Linked DNA regions of Homo sapiens: regions 2 and 3 are each linked to region 1. Evidence: promoter capture Hi-C in human tissues and cell types (Jung and others, 2019). All regions are on one chromosome and are shown on one strand. The core of a region is centred on a gene start or on the middle of the fragment in contact, and the rest is flanking DNA. Distances in the headings are between cores, read along the strand shown.

Region 1 (3,195 bases), core at 251-2,750:
TAGACCTGGTCAGAGTGGGATACTGTGGGGGTTGCAGTCCTTGGACCTGACAAGGTCTAAGGTCTGATCATGGAGGGAGGGGGAAGCTGAGGTAGGGCAGAGGACAGGAGTGGGCTTCATGAGACCAAAAGGATGTTGGAAGGATTATCTACCTGGATACTGAAATCTTCAAGAAGTAAGAGGTGTAGTGTGAAGAAGTTACAACACTCTAAGCTCTTCAGGGATAAGGGAAGCATGTGCCACGTGGGTAGCCTCCCAAGTCCAGCACCCAGTATCTAGAATATGCAGAGTGAATACCTGGGGGCTGCTGAGGGCAAGAACAAGGTGCCTGTGAGAAGACCTGACGCCTGGGGTTCTCGTGACAGGAGTGGGCCTAGTTTTTGGTGTAGAATTGAGCCTTGAATGCACCAGCGGGATCATATTGAAAAGAAACCCTCCAAGACTAAAGGAAGATGCATCCTCTGACAATGTACGCTCTGTAGGCTCCCAAGTAGCTGGGCTGGGGATTAGATGGACTCCAAGGCATTTCCTCAGGTGGCAATGGGCGGATCCCTGGGAAGGTAAAGCTGTGCAGTAAGAAAACGGCAAGATGCTACGTTCACTCAGGTAAAGCCCCTTTCCCGGGTTTAGGGAGGGCGAGGCAGTTTAGGCTGGGTCAGTTTGTCCCTGCCCTCACGGTTTGTTGGTCCTGGCAAAAGAGGGCCTTATGTTATTTATTTTTCTTAGAGACAGTGTCTTGCTCTGTTGCCCAGGCTGAAGTCCAGTGGCTCATCTCAGTTCACTGCAGACTCCGCCTCCTGGGATCAAGCGATCCTCCCACCTCAGCCTCCAGAGTAGCTGGGACCACAAGCACCACAGGCGCCCGGCACGATGCCGGCTAATTTTTTTTTTTTTTTTTTTTAAGAGAGAGAGGTAGGCTCCCTATGTTGCCCAGGCTTGTCTTGAATTCCTGGGCTCAAGCAATCCTCCCTCCTCGGCTTCCCAAAGTGTAGGGATTACAGGCGTGAGCCACTGCGCCCTGCCAAAAGAGGGCTTTAGGGCACCCCAGAACGCGAGATCCCCCTCATCTGTAATCTTTAAAGAGGAGGAAGTGTACTCCAAATCAAGCGATAGTCCATTCGTCCTTGGCACGGTGACTGCCGGGAGGCCAGGACCAAATGTGTCTCCTTCCGGCTTTTGCACCACACTAACTAACCGGCGCCAGGCCGCAGAGCCGCCCTGGCCTTCGGCGAGAACTCAGGCGAGCGCGGCGCACGCTGCTCCGGAGTCCCACCGCGGAAGTTGAGGCCGCGGATTCCGAGGGCGGGGTGGAGAGGAATCTGGAAGGACCTGGACCCGGTGGAACGCACTGCGCGGACGGCGCCTGCGTCCGCACTCAGCTGTTCAGCCCTCTTTCTTCAGGCTCTCCCCTGAAAGCCGTCCCCATGCCGGTCTCTTTTTTCTGCCTTCTTGTTTCCCTCCGGCGAGTCAGCGCGACTGTGAATTTCCGTTTCCGGCGGTGTCCATGCTGACCTGAGGAGTCGCGGCTGCGAGCAGGTTCGGTGCTGCGGGTTGGGGTAGGCGGCGGTGGGGTCCCTGGTTCTGGGGCACTGGGAAGATCGCGAGTCGTGCGTGTGGGAAGGTCCTCCCCCGGTCCTCCGGGTCATCTTTGCTCCCGAGGAGCGGCATATTTCTCATCTGGCGGAGGTGTCCTGGGGTAGTTGGGTGAGTGACGTGATGAATCCCTGCAGAGAGCCCAGACGGGGAGGGAAGGTGGCTGGGCGACGTCGTTTCCTGGCGACGTGGTCCCGGTAGGAGACTTAGACCTGAGCTGGATCTGTTGACCCCAAATTGTGCTTTTCCCACCAAGAAGAAAGACAGGGAGAGAAACATTAGTACAAGTGCTGAACTAAAATATAGCAGAGAAGAAACATAATCTCTGAAATCACACAGCTATTCGGTTTCAAAGCGTTCCTAGCGCCCAGCTCTCCTAACTCCTGGCCAGTGTTCTTGACATTATGGTAATACATAAAGACTTTGTTTCCGCTGGTGTGTGTCTGTGGGAAGCCTCTGACTCACCTCCGTGCTCCAGTAGCACCCTGTGCAGCCTTCCAATGTCGCCCTTATTGCGTGGCGCGGAAGATAATAGTTTGGATTTCCTCTGCAAGTCAGATAATAGCTGTATCCACTTACTGGCACAGTGCCTAGCACATCGTAGACAGACACAAATATTTATTCAACGGAATGAATACAGTACCTTAATTGAATGAAATGGCATCCTGCTCCGCTTTTTTTTTTTAATCAAGCTGTCAGATTTTATGCAGCCCGATTTCCTAAAATAACTCACTAATTCAGTGATTGCCAATTTATTAGCCACAGATTCCCAGGTAACTCAGAAATCACTGGAAGGGTCTCTGTAAGTTCATGGGGTCTCCAGGTGTCATCTAGAACCAGTCCTATCTCACACGTACAGCTATTTCTATTTTTCAAATGTATGTAGATAAGTTGTAATTTAGGAGTTTTACAGAGTCAACAGGTACTAAAAGTAATACTGCGATCATATTGGAGGTTCATAAAAACGTTTCACATTTTTTTATTAAAATTTAAGTTTTAGTTTAAGTTAGGAAACCACTTCATCAGTCCAGTTGATACCTGGGTCTGAGCTGTCCAGTATGGTAGCCACATGTGACTATTTGGAGTTAGAATGAAATTAATTAAAAACTCATTTTTTCAGTTTCCCTAAGTATATTGTAAGTAACCACATGTGGCTAATGGCTAAATGGCTGAAAAGTACAGATATAGTATATTTCTATCCTTGCAGAAATAGATACTGCTGATGTTGACACTTAAGATGAATAAAAAGTAACTTAACCATAAAATGTAATCTTAAGAGAGGTAACTCATCTAATTTATAGCATAACAGAGAGAAATGAAATTGGGGATGGTTAAGCAGTTTCTACCCTTGTTCAGTGAACAAATACATCATCTCTTCATAAAGAAATAAATGAAATTTACTGTTTTTCCCTGGGTATTGCCTGGATTGTAAAATGCTTCTCCCATCTCCTTACCCCAACCTTCTTCCTTGTAGGTTAGAGTTACTTGTTATTGGTAAATAGCCACTATGGAGGCTAAGGACCAGAAGAAACACAGAAAGAAAAACAGTGGACCCAAAGCTGCAAAGAAAAAGAAGCGGCTTCTGCAGGATCTCCAGCTAGG
Region 2 (3,195 bases), core at 360-2,859, 410 kb before region 1:
CACCTGTTTTTAAATTTTATTTTATTTTATTTTTGAGACGGAGTCTCTCTCTGTCGCCCAGGCTGGAGTGCATTGGCACGATCTCGGCTCACTGCAAGCTCCGCCTCCCGGGTTCAAGTGATTCTCCTGCCTCAGCCTCCCGTGTGGCTGGGACTACAGGCGCCCGCCATCGTGCCCGGCTAATTTTTTTCTTTTCTTTTTTTTTTTTTTTTGAGACAGAGTCTCGCAATTTTTTTATATTTTTAGTAGAGACAGGGTTTTACCGTGGTCTTGATCTCCTGACCTCGTGATCCGCCCGCCACGGCCTCCCAAAGTGCTGGGATTACAGATGTGAGCCACCGCGCCCGGCCAAAACCCACCTTTCTTAAAATCAGGTTCTTACTTCAGTGAGAGTGTGGCCAAAACTCAGGGCCTTAGCGCCACTCTCAGTTACCATGGTTTTGGGTTTCCAGTCTCATCACATCATTCACAGGTTACTGTGTCCTCATGGTTACATATTTCTTTGAATTTGTGATTCCAGTTAAAAAGGAACTATTTGACATTCGAGAGATGGCTGCATGCAAACATTTATAGCTTTTGAGAGAATACAGTGCACCAGGGAGACTACCAAGTGAAAAATACCAAGAGTTTGGAGTATGCATTTTGGCCAGGGATCACATGAAACGAACCAACTAAAATTAAATAGATCAAAGAATGAGCTAAATAAAGGGTTTACTACTGATTTTGATCAAGTAGTTTGTTTATTAATTCCAGACAACTGAATCTCTGTAATATCCAAAGTATTCTTTTATGTGCAACTACAAGTATCAGTAACTGCACAGATACTTCTCTGTTTGTCCAGTAAGCACATAATTCTATACTTAGCACAATGTTCACAACAGAATTTAAAGTCTGTTGTGTAGCCTTTACAGTAGAATCTGCTACAGAGCCTATTATGGGGGTTAAATTACTAATCATTGCGTTATTTACTCTAAACCATGAAAAAAGAAATCTAACAATTGATACCCATCCAGAAGAGTGAAGGCCTTCTGGCAATGCCCTTTATACTGAAAAATTTCTATTTAACCTATGAAGTAAGTAGGTTAAGAGCAGTGGGCCAATGTTCCTTTTCTGATATTATAAGGAAAAAAAGTCCCATTAATATTTCTCACCCACACTGGCCCTTCATCTTTCATCTCTCAAGGCATAAGTTTGTCCATGTATAAAGTTGGCTGCAAAATCCTCTGCATAGATAGTATACTCCATGAGGGGACAAAAGACTGCTTTTTTATTTCTATTGTTTGTAGGGCCATAAGCAGGAAAAAACAGAGCTAAGAGTCTCATGACAGCAGAGAAGTTTTGATTCATAATCTTAGAGAAAATGCTGTGTTAAGAATGTCATCTGCTTCTGAGGACAAATTTATCTGGTTAGCTTTACCTAAAGGTCTCTGATGTATATAAAATTCTGGCAGGGCTTAGTGGCTCATGCCTGTAATCCCAGCACTTTGGGAAGCCAAGGTGGGCGGATCATGAGGTCAGGAGATCAAGACCATCCTGGCCAACATTGTGAAACCCCTCTCTACTAAAAATACAAAAATTAGCTGGGCGTGGTGGTGCGTGCCTGTAATCCCAGCTACTCAGGAGGCTGAGGCAGGAGAATCACTTGAACCAGGGAGATCACGCCATTGCACTCCAGCCTGGCGACAAAGCGAGACTCTGTCTCAAAAATAAATTAATTAATTGATTAAGTTAAATAAAATTCCAAGAATCTGGAGAGGACCTTCTGAAATGTAAGATTATAAACCCAGGGGTTCAAGGTCCCAAAGTTCTGCCACAGTGTGGATAAAAAGGAGATATTCAGTATCTTGGTTATAGATTATAATGGGATTATTGTCCTTCAGTTGGTGGACCATTAAAAGCTTTCTTTACCTGGAAAAAAATATGCCTTGGCATAATGCATTAAAGCCTTGCTGCATTAAACCACATCACAATTTAGTAACAGAAAATACATGCAGTTCTATTATTAAGTGAATGGACCTTCCAATGAGTATTTCTTAAGGGTCAACTGATGTTGTCCACACTAAGTGGATCAGATTGTCATCAATCTGCAATACATTTGACCAAGGTAATCCAGTCAATTCAGTTATCCTTGCTTAATGCTGTAGCATCTGTAATAATTCATTTTACAGTTTTACAACTTTTCCAGTGAAATAAGTACTTCTATCATTGAAGGTTTTATCAGAAATGTCCAATGAAAAAACATATTTTCTAATAACATTTTAGTTACTGTTGTAACATCAGCCTTCTTGCATGGGAAAGTTTTTATACAACCAGAAAACATGCATTGAAAATGACAATTGAATAAAACCTGTGTACAAATGTTTAAATGACCCATCAGGTTTCAAAAATATACATGAAGTTTTAATTGTCTTCCTAGAATTATAGATTTGATAAACCAAACAATGGTTATAAACTATGTTAGCAATTTAAAACAATCACCATACATACATGACACACACACACACATTTAATTTATTTAATTTGGATTATTTTTTCTCTTCCATGAGTCATGAAATGCAGAGCTTTTAATAATAAAAGCCTTGAAGACTCAGGAAAAACCAGGTAGCTGTCTAGCTTCTCCACAAGTTCATGTTTAACAGTGGATTCATGTCCTTTTAAATACCAGGTTTGTTTCTCCAATTTAGATGCATAGCACTAATAACTGATGGCTTATCATAGGGAATTTGACTTGAACCACAGAGTTCATTCAAATTGCATATCTAAACAATCTCAGCACTGGCTAGTTTAGTATGAAAATCTGGCAAAACATTTTCTTGGTATTCAATTAATTTTTGTCTCGCTTTGATTAGGAGTTTTATAAGTCATTCCCTTCATTAGAGTTCTGAGGGTTGTTACCCAGTCCAAATGATACAATCCTAAAGTTATCTAAAACCTGTATGCAACATGTCTGGGTTCTTACCACTCTTTTCATGACCTCCTTAAAGACATAACACTCTAATATTTTGTGTGCTTGTGAAGTTTTTAGAAACTGCATCAGAATTAAGTCAGTAACTATAGATATGACTTAAAATGGTCATACTTAAATACACAGTTGGTGGCTGGGCGCAGTGGCTTATGCCTGTAATCCCAGCACTTTGGGAGGCTGAGGTGGGTGGATCATTTGAGGTCAGGAGTTCAAAACCAGCCTGGCCAACA
Region 3 (3,195 bases), core at 438-2,937, 290 kb before region 1:
ATTCTTCCTTGTATAATACTGATCATTCTATCTTAGTGGTAAGAGCCCGAGAAGGAGTATGGATACCTGTAAAGCTTTCCCGTCCTTGAGAAGCCTCTCCTTCTGTGCATATTATTACTGAAATTCTTCAAAAGATTTTGAGGCACTCTCAGGGTTTCATTGCTACTTTAATCATTATGGGATTGATTGCTGTCACAGCTACTGCCACGGTAGCTGGAGTTGCTTTACCAACACAGTACAAACAGCAGATTATGTAAATAATTGGCAGAAAAATTCTACTTTGCTGTGGAATTCCCAAACTAATATACACCAGAAATTAACCAATCAGATTAATGATCTCCGACAAACTATCGTATGGTTGGGAGATCATGTAGTTAGTTTAAAATATAGAATGCAGTTAACAATGTGATTGAAATACTTCTGATTTTTGCATTACTCCTCACCTGTATAATGAAACAGAGCATGAGTGGGAAAGAGTTAAGAGACATTTAAAGGATCATACTGGAAATTTATCTTTGGATATTGCAAAACTGAAGGAACACATATTTCAAGCCTCTCAGGCACATCTGACATTAATGACAGGAACTAAAGTGCTTGAAGGAGCTGCAGATGGATTAGCAGCTATTCACCCATACAAGTGGATCAAGACACTTGGAGACTTTGTGATTTCAATGATGATTGTGCCTTTAATCTGTATTGTTTGTCTTTGTGTAGTCTGCAGATGTGGATCCCGAATCCTGCGAGAAGTAGCCCACCATGACGAAGCTGCCTTTGCTTTTATCGCTTTGCAAAAACAGAAAAGGGGACATGCTGGGAACAGGCCCTAAGCCTGTCATAAACAGGCCTTAAACTGACCATGAACAGGATTTCTGCACGAATGTGACGTGCTCCTGATGGCTATGACGCCCACTGCTAGAAGTTGTTAGTTTACTGGAGCAGGGTAGGGAACACCTGGCCCACCCGGAGCGGAAAACTGCTCAAACCACAAACAACAGCATGAGTGGCCTGAGCCTTAACAACATGTTTTTGCTGCAGATAATCGGCCAGAGACTGTTTCTCTACTCCTCTCTAAGTATGCTTTGTTTTTCGTAAGGAATGCTTTTAGCTAATCTGTAACCTATAGAAACAATGCTTATCACTGGCTTGCTGTCAATAAACATGTGGGTCAAACTCTGTTTGTGGCTCTCAGCTCTCAAGGCTGTTTTCCCCCTGATTCCCACTTTGCACTTTATTTCTGTGTGTTTGTCTTCATTCCTCTAGCACCACTGGGTTGGGGTCTCCTTGACCAAGCTGGTCTCGGCACATATGCATGTATGCCCAGGTCCTGAAATCAGCCTTGTGGAGCCTGTGGGTAGGAAAAGTCAACCCTCTGTGCATGTAGGCCTGGAACCTGACCAATACTGTATTTTCCTACCACGTTTGGTTTCAAATGTGGAAACTGCCCATACGGACCTACTGCATTTGTTTTTAAAAATCCTCTGTAAGTGGACCTGCACAGTTCAGGCCCAGATTGTTCCAGGATCAACCCTACAGTAGAAATCAAGTATCTTTTTCATTGTCTCTTGGGATCTGCCTTTTCACCAATAAAATATGAGGGCTGTTGGGAGCAGGCCCCCCCAAATCTGGCCATAAACTGTCCCCAAAACTGGCCATAAACAAAATCTCTGCAGCACTATAACATGTTCATAATGGCCATAACGCCCAAGTTGGAAGGTTGTGGATTTACAGGAATGAGGGCAAGGAACACCTGGCCTGCCCAGGGTGGAAAACCACTTAAAGGCATTCTTAAGCCACAAACAATAGCATGAGTGATCTGTGCCTTAAGAACATGCTCCTGCTGCAGTTAACTAGCCCAACATATTCCTTTAATTCAGTCCATCCCTTCGTTTCCCATAAGGGATACTTTTAGTTAATTTAATATCTATAGAAAGAATGCTAATGACTGGTTTGCTGTTAATAAATACGTGGGTAAATCTCTGTTTGGGGCTCTCAACTCTGAAGGCTGTGAGACCCCTGATTTCCCACTTGACACCTCTATATTTCTGTGTGTGTGTCTTTAATTCCTCTAGCACTGCTGGGTTAGGGTCTCCCTGACCGAGCTGGTCTCAGCAAGTGGAGTCCATTGTGGGGGCTCAAATCCAGGTTGAAGGGTCACCGGAGCAACATTTGGAAAGGAAAACTAGCTGAAGGACATGTGAATACTCTTAAAGCAATCTCCTTGGTGAGTAAGAAGGGGCGCTCGGAAGCGTCAGGGTAACAATGGGACACGTTTGGGGTCTGGTTTGTTTCACCTTGGAACTTTTTCACACGGATGATGAGGAGGAAGGAGAGTTTAATGAAGTAACAGAAGAGAGTACAGAGCACATTTATTTACCAGCTAAAGCTAAAGCAGCAAAGGAGGGAGAGATTCATCCTTACCCTTCTGCACCCCCTCATGATTATTTTGAAGAAAATGACTTTCAAGATCTTTCTTTTCCAGAGGACACTGGGCGAAAAGTAGTTGCCCCAGTGACTGTTTGAGCAGCACCTCAAGCGACTGCTCTTAGTTCTATTCACGCAGGAATTCAGCAAGCTAGATGAGAGGGTGATTTAGAGGCTTGGCAGTTCCCTGTTAGAATACACCACCCCCAGATCAACAGGGAAATATTATAGCTACATTTGAGCCTTTTCCTTTTAAATTACTCAAAGAATTTAAACAAGCTATAAATCAGTATGGACCAGGTTCTCCTTTTGTAATGGGACTGTTAAAGAATGTTGCTGTTTCCAGTTGGATGATTCCTACTGACTGGGATGCTCTTACTCGAGCTTGTCTAACTCCTGCTCAGTTCTTAAAATTTAAAACTTCGTGGGCAGATGAAACTGCCATTCAGGCTGCTTGCAATGCCCAGGCCCAACCTCAAATTAGTATAACTGCAGACCAACTTTTGGGGGTTGGCAACTGGGCTAGTTTAGATGTCCAAGGGGTCATGCAGGATGATGCCACAGAGCAGCTTAACAGAGTGTGCATTAAAGCTTGGGAAAAAAATCACTATAGGTGTAGAACAATACCCTTCCTTTAGTGCTATAAAACAGGGACCAGGAGAACTATACCTTGATTTTATAGCTCGGTTACAGGAGTCTTCTTAAAAAGATGATGCAGATTCGGCTGCTCAGAATATAGTGTTGCAGTTATTATATTTCAACAATGCTAATCCC

Evidence for each region. Contacts are between HindIII fragments. The study calls those that stand out against the background at their distance.
Region 2: a contact is called between a fragment that was not itself captured here and the fragment with the promoter of BMS1 in region 1, in 1 of the 25 tissues and cell types used here (spleen).
Region 3: a fragment that was not itself captured here is called in contact with the fragment with the promoter of BMS1 in region 1 in 1 of the 25 tissues and cell types used here (thymus).

Annotation. Positions count from the first base shown.
Region 1 is chr10:42,781,295-42,784,489 of GRCh38, forward strand. It overlaps BMS1 (BMS1 ribosome biogenesis factor), which reads left to right and starts at 1,501. Exons shown (of 23, transcript NM_014753.4): 1 at 1,501-1,536; 2 at 3,068-3,195. The coding sequence starts at 3,101. RefSeq lists an enhancer at 1,332-1,681. The HindIII fragment of the contact is 8,695 bases long and covers 1-3,195 here.
Region 2 is chr10:42,371,235-42,374,429 of GRCh38, forward strand. No RefSeq gene overlaps it. Among named protein-coding and RNA genes, the nearest start is that of LINC00839, 100 kb to the right of the region's middle. The HindIII fragment of the contact is 4,474 bases long and covers 1-3,195 here.
Region 3 is chr10:42,493,301-42,496,495 of GRCh38, forward strand. LINC00839 (long intergenic non-protein coding RNA 839) reads left to right here. Exons shown (of 5, transcript NR_026827.1): 5 at 715-2,037. Among named protein-coding and RNA genes, the nearest start is that of LINC00839, 19 kb to the left of the region's middle. The HindIII fragment of the contact is 5,604 bases long and covers 1-3,195 here.